Linked DNA regions of Homo sapiens: region 1 is linked to region 2. Evidence: promoter capture Hi-C in human tissues and cell types (Jung and others, 2019). All regions are on one chromosome and are shown on one strand. Each heading gives the region's core, a stretch centred on a gene start or on the middle of the fragment in contact. The rest is flanking DNA. Distances are from core to core; before and after follow the strand shown. Region 1 overlaps HIRA (histone cell cycle regulator). Region 2 holds the start of DGCR2 (DiGeorge syndrome critical region gene 2).

Region 1 (5,018 bases), core at 33-2,532, 260 kb before region 2:
TAGAACACTGCCCACCATCCTCACAGGCCAGCTACTGCGGCACATGTGTCTGCCTGGGGCTCTTGCTACCAGGCTGCTGATGGCCATGTCTTTCAGGACTCTGAATGGGCTGGGCATCTTGGTATGCTCTATGGACGGCTCTGTGGCATTCCTCGACTTCTCCCAGGATGAGCTTGGCGATCCCCTGAGCGAGGAGGAGAAGGTAGGCTGACGGCTCTTGTGCTGCTGGGTGCTCTGTGGCCATTGCCACAATAGCTCTGAGAGACCCCTTTGACTACACCCTCTTCTTGTGAGATACACAGACAAGTCATTTCTTAACATGTAATGGGGTATTCATCTTTTATATCTTGTAATCCTTCTTTACAAAATAGATTAATTAAAAAACGAGTCCCCATTTCAGAAATAAGTCCTGGAGTTAAGAGTAGAACTATTTTAGGCATCTCTTTTTGAGCTGATAATAGGCCATCCACTGGGAGGTTTTTGCCCTGGGAAAGAGCTGAAGTGACTCCTCAGGGGCCCCTGCTCATGTCACTTTCACCTTCATGGTAGTAATATTGGTCATTTCTTAGAACGCATTGTCTGCCAGGCTCTGGGAATGTGTTTTGCACATATGATTTCATTTAAATTGCACAAAACCCTTCAAGGCAAGGCTCATCCATTTCGTGGATATGGAAACTAAGCCTCAGAAAATAGCATGGCTCTTTGCCCAGACTGTATGTGACCCTTAGGTCAGAAGAGTGAACAAGGCCTGCTGCCTCTGGGCCAGGCTGCCTCCCCTCTGTGCTCTGCTGGGGTGATGGGGTCTCTCTGCCCTTCTGCCAGGCTTTGAGAAAAGCCCTGCTTCACCTACCAGAGGCTTAGAAACCTGCCCCCACTTGGTGGGTTGTGTGTATGTGTCTGAAGGGAGCTCTGTGAAAGCCCAGAGCAGGCTGGCAGCTCTCCTCATGACCTTATTTGCTGGTGGAAGCTTCCTCTTAACCTACAGTGTGACCTCCCCACTAAAATGTGAACCCCTTTGGGGGAGAGGTCTGCCTTAATGACTACACTTAGAATGGGGCCTGCCACCCCATCATTTTTCCATGAAGGAATGAGTATCTCAGAGGCCTCAGGTCCTCCTCCAACCTTGTCACTGTCATCAGGTACCTGGGATCACTATGCACTCCCTTGGAGTCACTCTGGGAGCCTAATAACCCATCTGCTTACCATTTCCCAAGTCAGGCTGGGACTCCATGTTGGAGGAACACTAGGGAAACCCTGGCCAAACACTGAATTCTGCTTCGAGATTCCAGGGGATAGACTCAGGAGAGAAGGGCAGGAGCCAAGATGGCAAGAAAAGGAGGTTCCTGGCCACATTCAAGCCCTGCAGGAGCAGGTCCCAAGGCACCTCTCTTGGAACGCTGCCTCTCAACCCATGCTCTGCTGTAAAGCAGATGTCCTGTTAACCACAGTCCCTGTTCTTGAGCAGAATCCCACATTGGACATTTGCACATCCCATGGAAGTGTGTTCCTCATGCACTTTCATGTACAGCAGTCACTACAGTGTGCTGGGGACACCATCTCTGCTCTCATGAGGCTCCTGTCTAGCTTGTTAGGGCACAAGACTATGAGGGCCTAGAAGGAGGGGAGTATGATGACATACTAGGAGGGGTGGGAGTAAAGGAGGCTCCCCAGCCCTGCTGTGCCAGGCCTTCCCATACTCTTAGAGACACTAAGCAGGCCAATGGGGACTTCCAACCACAGGGCTTATGGCTGCAGATGAGCTGTGAAAGTAGACTTTTGTTCTAGGATCTGATTCCCAAAATCATTTGGGTCCTAGGAGTGATTTAAGAGCCTTAAGTTAGCACCTTGAGTATCTTCCTTTCCACTGAAGCACTGTGGATTGTCATTTGTTCTCCACCAGACTGTGGGGCAGGTGTTGTCTTGTTGGCTGTCTCATTTACTGTCATCCCAGCTACAGATACAAGGGAGGCCATAAAAATCAAGGGTGGGCATGAGACATCAACAGAGCTGTCGAATGAGGGACAGGCAGAATAGGATGGGAGGCGATGGGGAGTTGGCCTTGGGTCCCTTCTCCACTCAGAGCCAGGAGAGCCCTGCTGTAGTTTGCCTGCTGGTGGGCAGCACTGGCCACACTGGCACTCATGCTGGCATGTCATGCCTCTCCTTGCTTCCCCAGAGCCGCATTCACCAGTCCACCTATGGCAAGAGCCTAGCCATCATGACCGAGGCCCAGCTCTCCACAGCCGTCATTGAGAACCCTGAGATGCTCAAGTACCAGCGAAGGCAGCAGCAGCAGCAGCTGGACCAGAAGAGTGCTGCGACCAGGGAGATGGGCTCAGCCACCTCAGTCGCAGGCGTTGTCAACGGGGAGAGTCTTGAAGATATCAGGAAGGTGAGAGCCCTGCCTGGTGGCGCTAAAGACATGGACATATGCCCAGGGACAGGGTGAGGGGCAGACACCAGTGGTGGTAAGGAAGGGGTTTGTTTAGAGTGGTACGGGATCTGTGGGTTAGCCAGCCTCGGGCCTGTTGGCCCCTTGCCCACTGCTGCATGATGCAGTAATGGGGCCTGGATCCTCTTTATCAAAGGCCTCCTTATCCCCAGGAGCCCAGAGGAGGTCATCTCTTGTAAGAACTTACGAATTTTATCCTTCTGGTCTTTCTAAAAATCCTAGATGCTAACAACAGTGGATTTCAGGCTCTGCCCTTAGGAGACTTCTATGGGCTCCCCCTTCTTCATCTGGAAGCCATGTTTGATGGGAAGGGGTTGGAAATGGGGCGGGAAAAGGGTAGGGAACGTTATTGCCTGGGGAGTATAAACCATCTCCAGGAGCCTGTGTAGGCTGACAAACCTCCTCCAGGCAATTCAGATATAAAGTATGAGAGAAAACCCCTAGTTACAAGCTTTCTGTGGAAGGAAGGATTCTATTTTGAAAGTCAGTTTGAAAATCTCTACCTCAGGCCAGGCGCAGTGGCTCACCCCTGTAATCCCAGCACTTTGGGAGGCTGAGGCAGGCGGATCACTTGAGGTCAGGAGTTCCGACCAGCCTGGCCAACATGGTGAAACCTTGTCTCTACTTAAAAAAAAAAAAAATAGCCGGGTATGGTGGTGCATGCCTATAATCCCAGCTACATGGGAGGCTGAGCAGGAGAATTGCTTAAACCCGGGAAGCAGATATTGCAGTGTGCCGAGACTGCGCCACTGCACTCCAGCCTGGGAGACAGAGTGAGATTCTGTCTCAAAAAAAAAAAAGAAAGAAAGAAAATCCCTAGCTTAGTGACAGATGTGTGGTTCACGGGTACAGAGCTCAGTCCTTTAGCCCTTTCATTGGTCCCATGGCTGTTGTGCGAGGCGGCCAGTGTGGCATGTACCCACTGCTTGTTCTTTGCTTGGGTGTCTTATTTAGTTGTACCAGGAGGGCAATTTAGAATACATTTCCTTAGAAGCCTTATTATTTTTAAACCTACCGTGTTGAAGTACAATTGACATATAAAAAGTTATACATACTTAGTGTGTACAAATTAATGATAAGCCAGACACAGAAGGACAAATACCGCATGATATCTCTCTTTTTTTTTTTTTTTTTTTTTGAGATGGAGTCTCGCTCTGTCACCAGGCTGGAGTGCAGTGGCGCAATCTTGGCTCACTGCAACCTCCGACTCCCTGGTTCAGGCGATTCTCCTGCCTCAGCCTCAGCCTCCTGAGTAGCTGGGATTACAGTTACACACCACCACGCCCAGCTAATTTTTGTATTTTTAGTAGAGACGGGGTTTCACCATGTTGGCCAGAATGGTCTCGATCTCCTGACCTTGTGATCTGTCCACCTCGGCCTCCCCAAAGTGCTGGGATTACAGGCGTGAGCCACCGTGCCTGGCCTGCCTGATACCTCTTATATGAGGAATCTAAAATAGTCAAACTCACAGAGACAGAGAATAGAATGGTGAATACTGGGGTCAGAGGAAAATGGGAGTTATTAGCCAAAGGGTATAAAGTTTAAGTTATAGAAGATGAATAAGTCCTAGAAATCTCCCCTACAGCATAGTGCCTACAGTTCACAATATGATATTGCATACTTAAAACTTTGCTAAGAGGGTGGATCTTATGCTTAGTGTTCTTATCACCAGGAAAAAAAGAGACTTTATTTTTTAATATTTGGAAATAGTTGGCCAAAACTTTTGCATTCATTTATGTAACTCTGCTTTGCCAGAATCTTTTGAAGAAACAAGTTGAGACTCGGACAGCAGATGGCCGGAGAAGAATCACGCCTCTCTGCATAGCACAGCTGGACACTGGGTACTGGTTCATTCCCCTTTCATGGTCTTATCTGGCGAGATCTTCCTGTCTTCTTTCAGCGGTTAACACTTTCACAGTGAGGATCTTCACGGGTCCTTCACAACCTGACTGGTAGAACATGGAAGCAAGGAAGTGAAGCTCAGCTTCCCGCAGTCTCAAAGCCCATACTCCTCCTGGAGCCCTTGTGCACACCTGAATCATGTGAGGGGTGGGAGTGCTAAGGCGGCCAGCACATCTGCTGCACTTCACTGTTGCCAGGGCACCAGAGGACGCACAAGGAAAGCAGTCAGTCAGGCTGATTTTTTTTTTCTTTTTTTTCTTTCATAAAGTTATTTTTATGATTATGAAAGGTATATTTACACATGGTTAAATTTAGAAAATAGTAAAAGCCCAAAGAAGAAAAAAACATTATCCATAATCAGATACAGTCACTGTTAATGTTTTTATATCTGTATTTCCAGTCTTTTTTTTCCCCACTCGTTACTGTTTCATGCCCATTCATCCATTTTAATAACTAGTCCTCTGAGGTGTTTGCTATCTGATTATCCAGATTCCCATCCTAGGATTTGCTTAGCCAGCTCACTGTAGACTTGTGTTTGTGTCCAGTTTCTCGTGATTATAAATGAGTCTTTGAGCTCACCTGTGGTTGTTCTCTCAGGATAACTTCTAGAAGTGGAATTACTGGGCAGAGAGTAGGGCTCCCAAACATATTTCCCTGTGGGGGA
Region 2 (5,388 bases), core at 476-2,975:
CTCTGTGGCAGTAAGATACCAGCATGACAGCAGGCCCGGAAGGAAACACATATTTTACTGCAAAACAGGTTTCTTTCACATATTTTGAAGTCGCTCTGCAAAGCTGTTTTTTGTGGGGAAAATCTACATTCTGTAGAGAATCCCTATCCCTTTCAAGGTCTTTTCTCCTGAGAGAATTAACTAGAGTCTGGCACCTTTTATTTATTTTTCCTTTTTTTTTTCCTTTTTTTTTTTTTTTTTTTTGAGACAGAGTCTTACTCTGTTGCCCAGGCTGGAGTGCAGTGGCATGATCTTGGCTCACTGCAACCTCTGCCTCCCCGGTTCAAGCGATTCTCCTGCCATCAGCCTCCTGAGTAGCTGGGATTACAGGCGTGTGCCACCACGCCTGGGTAACTTTTGTATTTTTAGTAGAGATGTGGTTTCACCATGTTGGCCAGGCTGATCTTGAACTCCTGACCTCAGGTGATCCGCCCGCCTTGGCCTCCCAAAGTGCTGGGATGACAGGCGTGAGCCACCACACCCGGCAGAGTCTGGCACTTTTTAATAAGAAACATTAACAGTCTTTTCTCTGTGAAGCCTGATACCTGGAGGCTTCATTTGCCTAAGAAACTTGGTCTCCACAACCCCTTAATGTAGACAGTCCCTTTTATTGATTCCAGGTCTTTAGATAAACTCTTTGAACCAACTGCCAATCCGCATGACCTAGAAGCCCCCCTCCACCCCCCACTTTCAAGTTGTCCCGCCTTTTCCGACTGAACCAATGTATATCTTACATGTGCTGATTGATGTCTTGTCTCCCTAAAATGTATAAAACCAAGCTGTGGCCCTACCCCCTTGGGCACTTGTCAGGATCTCCTGGGGCTGTGTCCCAGGCTATTGGTCACATATTGGCTCAGAAGAAATGTCTTCAAATATTTTACAGAGTTGGACTCTTCGCCGACACTGCCCTCCAAGGTTCACCCTGTTGGTGATGACGGGAGAAGTGGCACTTGGAGCACTGTTCGCAGGGGCGCTGAGCCTCCTCTCTGCCTAGCTTTCTTTCCTGCACATGTGGCCTTCCCCTAGCCATTGTGTAGGCAGGTCCTCCAGGGAGCCGGCTTCGCTGCAGTCTCCAGGACCTGGCCTTCCCGGTCTCTCTTTGCCTGACACTCTCTTAGGCCATTCCTGTTCCTCTTTCCCCACCCTCAGAACCGGCAGGCCCTCCCTCCTCCACAGCGGTTCGGCCTTAAAAAGACCCCTTTGGGGCGCACTTTTGGGCTGCTCACGGGACCTGAGCTTGCAGGTGTGAAGACCCTTGGAGTCCCAGCCAGGTTCCCACTTCGTTCTCTCCGCTCCCCACCCGCGCGACCCCTCGGCGCCCCGCCCCATGCCCCGCGCCTTTCGATGTCCATCCTTGCCGTCCCGCGCCCGCCGTCCCTAACCGGCGTCCAGAGACCCTACTCCCTTCGGTGGCCCCGCCGCTCAGGCCCCGGCCCCGGCCCTGCCTCTCTGCTTAACCAATGGCACGCCTCACTCCGTATGGTCCCGCCCTTCCCTTAGAGCCCGCCCCTCAGTCCCCGCCCTTAGGTCCCCGCCCTCCGCCGTCGCGACCTTAGGCCTCACCCTCTTCGGAGGGCTTTGGCTCTGGCCCCGCCCCCCATCTTGACGGTCATTGGCCCGCGCCTGCGTCGCGGGCGGGAGGCGGGGCGGGGCGGCGCGGCGCGGAGCCGAGCAGGACGGCCGCCATCTTGCGCGCAGCTGGAGTCGGTGCCTGAGGTTGCAGCCGAGAGTGTGCGCCAGCCCGCGGCCCAGCCGAAGCTCTTTCCCGCCGCCTCTCCGCGCCTCGCCCAGGTTCAGCTCCGCCTGACCCTCCGCTTGGCACGGTCCCCTGACCCTCAGTCCGGCCTGGTCCGGCCTTCCAGCCGCCCCGGGGACGATGAACGGAGGATAAATGGTGCCCAAGGCAGACAGCGGCGCCTTCCTGCTGCTCTTCCTGCTCGTGCTCACTGTCACCGAGCCGCTGCGGCCAGGTGCGCCGCGCGATGGGGGCGGTGTGGGGGCTGGGCGGCGAGCGGGGCCGGGGTCGCCCCGGGACCTCCTTTCACCCGCGGCGCCCTCCTGCAGGGGCCGCGCCTGGGGCAGGGGCGGGCGGGGCCTGGCTCGCGGGCCGCCTGGCACTCTCTGCGGACGCCTGCTGGAGCTTACCTGGGCTCGCGGCGCCTCGGACTTCGTGCAGCTCTGCTGTCCAGGATGTTGCCTCTGGGCCCTTCCCGGGAGCGGCGGCGGCCAGGAGCTACGCCACGGGCGCACCCTCTCGCCAGTCCAGCGTCGGAGTCGGGCTGGGGACAGTGGCTCTCAGGGGCACCTGGTTTCACAGACGTCCTCCCAGCAGTGGCCTAGTGCCAGCCTCTCAGTCCTGGAAACTCCTCGCCTGGACAGCGGTGGTTGTGGCTGTCATTCAGTGAGACGTTGCGCTAAGGAAGTCCTCAGGTCCCACCGGGCCTAGAGGAGGCACCAGGAGTCAGCCTAGCGTTGTGTGGCCGGCGCGAGCGTCCCGGGAGCAGAGACCTCGCCACTGTGCGGGGCCCTTAGCCGTGCTGCGTGTATGTGATGAATGAGTCCGTGCTTTGGAACTCCCCTCGGAGCTAGTGTGTTCTTAAGTCTGTGGTGGGGAATCAGAACCGTGGCAACCAGGAGACCCTTTTCTACCTATTTCGGTGTACCTCCCCTTGAACTGCACCAAAAAATCAAACTCCCTAAATGCAGGGCCGATGTATCCATCAGGCACAGGAATCCTGGTATCACTTGCCCACGGTACTTTTAGTAGCCTTCGAATGTTATTTTATTTTTTTTTAAAGTCAGCAGAAAAAAAATGAACTTTTAGGTCAAATAAAATGTTTTCGTATGTATATTAATACAGTCATCTTTATACTAATACAGTGAAAAAGCATGACTCTTAATATTTCTTAATGGAGGAAAGGTCCCATGAAGGCAGAAGTGCCAGGGCCATCTTCTCTGATGACCTGGGTGTGGGAGCACGGGGTGTGTGGCCCTCTCCTGTGCCCTAGCCAGGCTCCCAGCCCAGATACACCGCACCTCTTGGCTCTGCGCTTGTGTCATCTATGTGGAATGTCTGCCTCCTCCCTAGTGCCTGCCTGGTGGCCAAGGCCCTGACCGGTGCTCAACCTGGACAGATTCAGTGATGCTTCTCTGGTCTCCCCATGTAGAGCTAGTTGCTCACTGCTTTTGGCTGCTCTCTGGGCAGCGGGATGACTAGTTGTGGGGTGGCCTTGGTAAGAACAGAAGCCAGGAAAAGGGCTACCTGTGGAGGAGGGTATCATATAGGCTCTTGGAGGTCAGAACCAATGGGTTTGTGGATTCTTGTGATTAACTTCTTTAGAAAACATATATGTACGTGTAGAGAGGTAGAAGGTCACCGTTTTCTGATTCTTGAGTCCCAGTTTTGCAGATGAGGTCACCGGGCTCAGGTGAGGCCATATTATGCCTGGCTTCTTTGGGGTGCCTCTGGTTCCAGGCCCAGCATCTCCTGCCTGGGTGATAGAGGTGACTGACGTCCCCGACTCCTTTTTCCTTGCCAGCCTTTTCACATAGCCTGCCAACTGGCCAGCAGCAACTGAGAAAGTGCCTGTGGGTGCTTGCCCCCTGCCCATCCCTAGGGAATCCAAGTGACAAGAACAAGCCCCTCCTTTTAGGAGTGCCTGATGTGGAACAGAGGCCAGGTGTAAGTCACTTGTCACACTCCTGTGTGTTGAATACCCTGGAGTGTGGGGTCCCAGAGGTGGGTGGAGGTGGCCATCTTTTTGTACCTGTGAAGCAGTGAGGGCGTCACAGGAGACCTCACACTGAGGTCGGAGTAGGGCATGGGTGGGGTGGATCTGGTAGAGGGAGCAAACTTATTCTTTCGATTCCATGACTCTCCAGATGAGAACATTGCAGCTACCCCTGGAGGCGTCTTGAGTTGCCCTGCAGAACCCGGGAGCTGCAGCTGGCTTCCTGGCTTTGGCTGGGCAGGGAGGGCAGGCCTCTGGGCCTGATGTGTTCCTTGTATGCCCGTGTGTGCCTCTTCACACATTCACCATGTGTCCTTCCTGAGAGTGCTGCAGGGATCTGCCTGGCTGGTGCTTGCAAGAGGCTGGGGCTTCTCTGGTCTTAGTCTGCGTTCTTTCTGTGGGGATTCCGGCCTTAAAAGCATACTTGAGTATGAGGAAGGTATCAGTCAGAGCCCACTTCTCAGGAGGGTGTTTTCTGACTCCTGCCTGGTGGGGTCCCTGAAGATGATGCCAAGCCACCTGGGCTTCCTCTCTGGTACAGGGCAGGGTGGAAGGCCTTTCATGGAGTTATGGGGCAGCAAGTGCTTGCTGTACTTGACCTTTCACCAATTTTTTTTTTTTTTTTTTTTTTGAGACAGAGTCCTGCTCTGTTGCTCAGGCTGGAGTGCAGTAGCGTGATCTTGGCCCACTGCAACCTCCACCTCCTTGGTTCAAGCGATTCTCCTGCCTCAGCCTCCCGAGTAGCTGGGATTACAGGCATACGCCTCCACGCTCGGCTAATTTTTGTATTTTTAGTAGAGATGGGGTTTTGCCATGTTGGCCGGGCTGGTCTGGAACTCCTGACCTCTGGTGAGCCACCTGCCTTGGCCTCCCAAAGTGCTGGAATTACAGGCCTGAGGTACCATGCCCAGCAATTTTTTTTTAAGTGCACATTTGAACTTGATTTAAGATGTGTCATGTGCCGGACACTGTTCTAAGCACTAACATATGTTAACTCTCAAGAGGTCCCTGCTAGATGCTGTTTTTAGCCTCATTTAAAGATGGGGAAGCTGAAATCCAGAGCACTCATGAAGCTAAGGCTGAGATGAGATTTCATCGTAGGAGTCTGGCCTTCCCCCCATCATGCACCCGTGACTGGGGTCTGTGCACTCCAACTGTGTGTCTCCAGCCCAGCCACAGGAGTACCTCATATTATGCTCTGAACAGCTTCCTTAACCCCAGGTGGAGCCACAGACTGCCTCTGTCCCCTGTTAGGTCCCAGGGTCCTCTAGGTGAGGGTGCAGAATCTTTTTCCATGTGGATACTCCAGTCTGAGGGACAGAACCACTCACCCTCTGCCAAATCCCTTCTGTGTTTGGCCATGTGACCACTGATGATGTGTGTTATGATCACTGGGGGTGTGATGAGGAAGAACGGTTGGAGACTACTGCTGAGGTAACTGACAGCGAGATGGTGGGGGGATTTGGGGACCACTGATTGTGATACTGTCTCATTGGCCCTTTCTCCATCTGTGTAGAGAAGGCAGCATCGACTGCTGATTCTAAAACTGTTTTTCTTTCTAGCTTTAATTGTGAAACAAAATTATATCATGAGCCACAGCTCTATCCAGGTTGAACCC

What was found. The method cuts DNA at HindIII sites, captures the fragments that hold promoters and counts their contacts. A contact is called where the count stands out against the background at its distance.
Region 1: a contact is called between a fragment that was not itself captured here and the fragment with the promoter of DGCR2 in region 2, in 2 of the 25 tissues and cell types used here (H1 embryonic stem cells and dorsolateral prefrontal cortex).

The regions. Positions count from the first base shown.
Region 1 is chr22:19,382,895-19,387,912 of GRCh38, reverse strand. It overlaps HIRA (histone cell cycle regulator), which reads left to right. Exons shown (of 25, transcript NM_003325.4): 11 at 97-202; 12 at 2,177-2,392; 13 at 4,208-4,293. Among named protein-coding and RNA genes, the nearest start is that of HIRA, 46 kb to the left of the region's middle. The HindIII fragment of the contact is 6,076 bases long and covers 1-4,320 here.
Region 2 is chr22:19,118,749-19,124,136 of GRCh38, reverse strand. It overlaps DGCR2 (DiGeorge syndrome critical region gene 2), which reads left to right and starts at 1,725. Exons shown (of 10, transcript NM_005137.3): 1 at 1,725-2,009. The coding sequence starts at 1,931. RefSeq lists silencers at 1,401-1,840, 1,961-2,080 and an enhancer at 1,865-2,366. The HindIII fragment of the contact is 22,645 bases long and covers 1-5,388 here.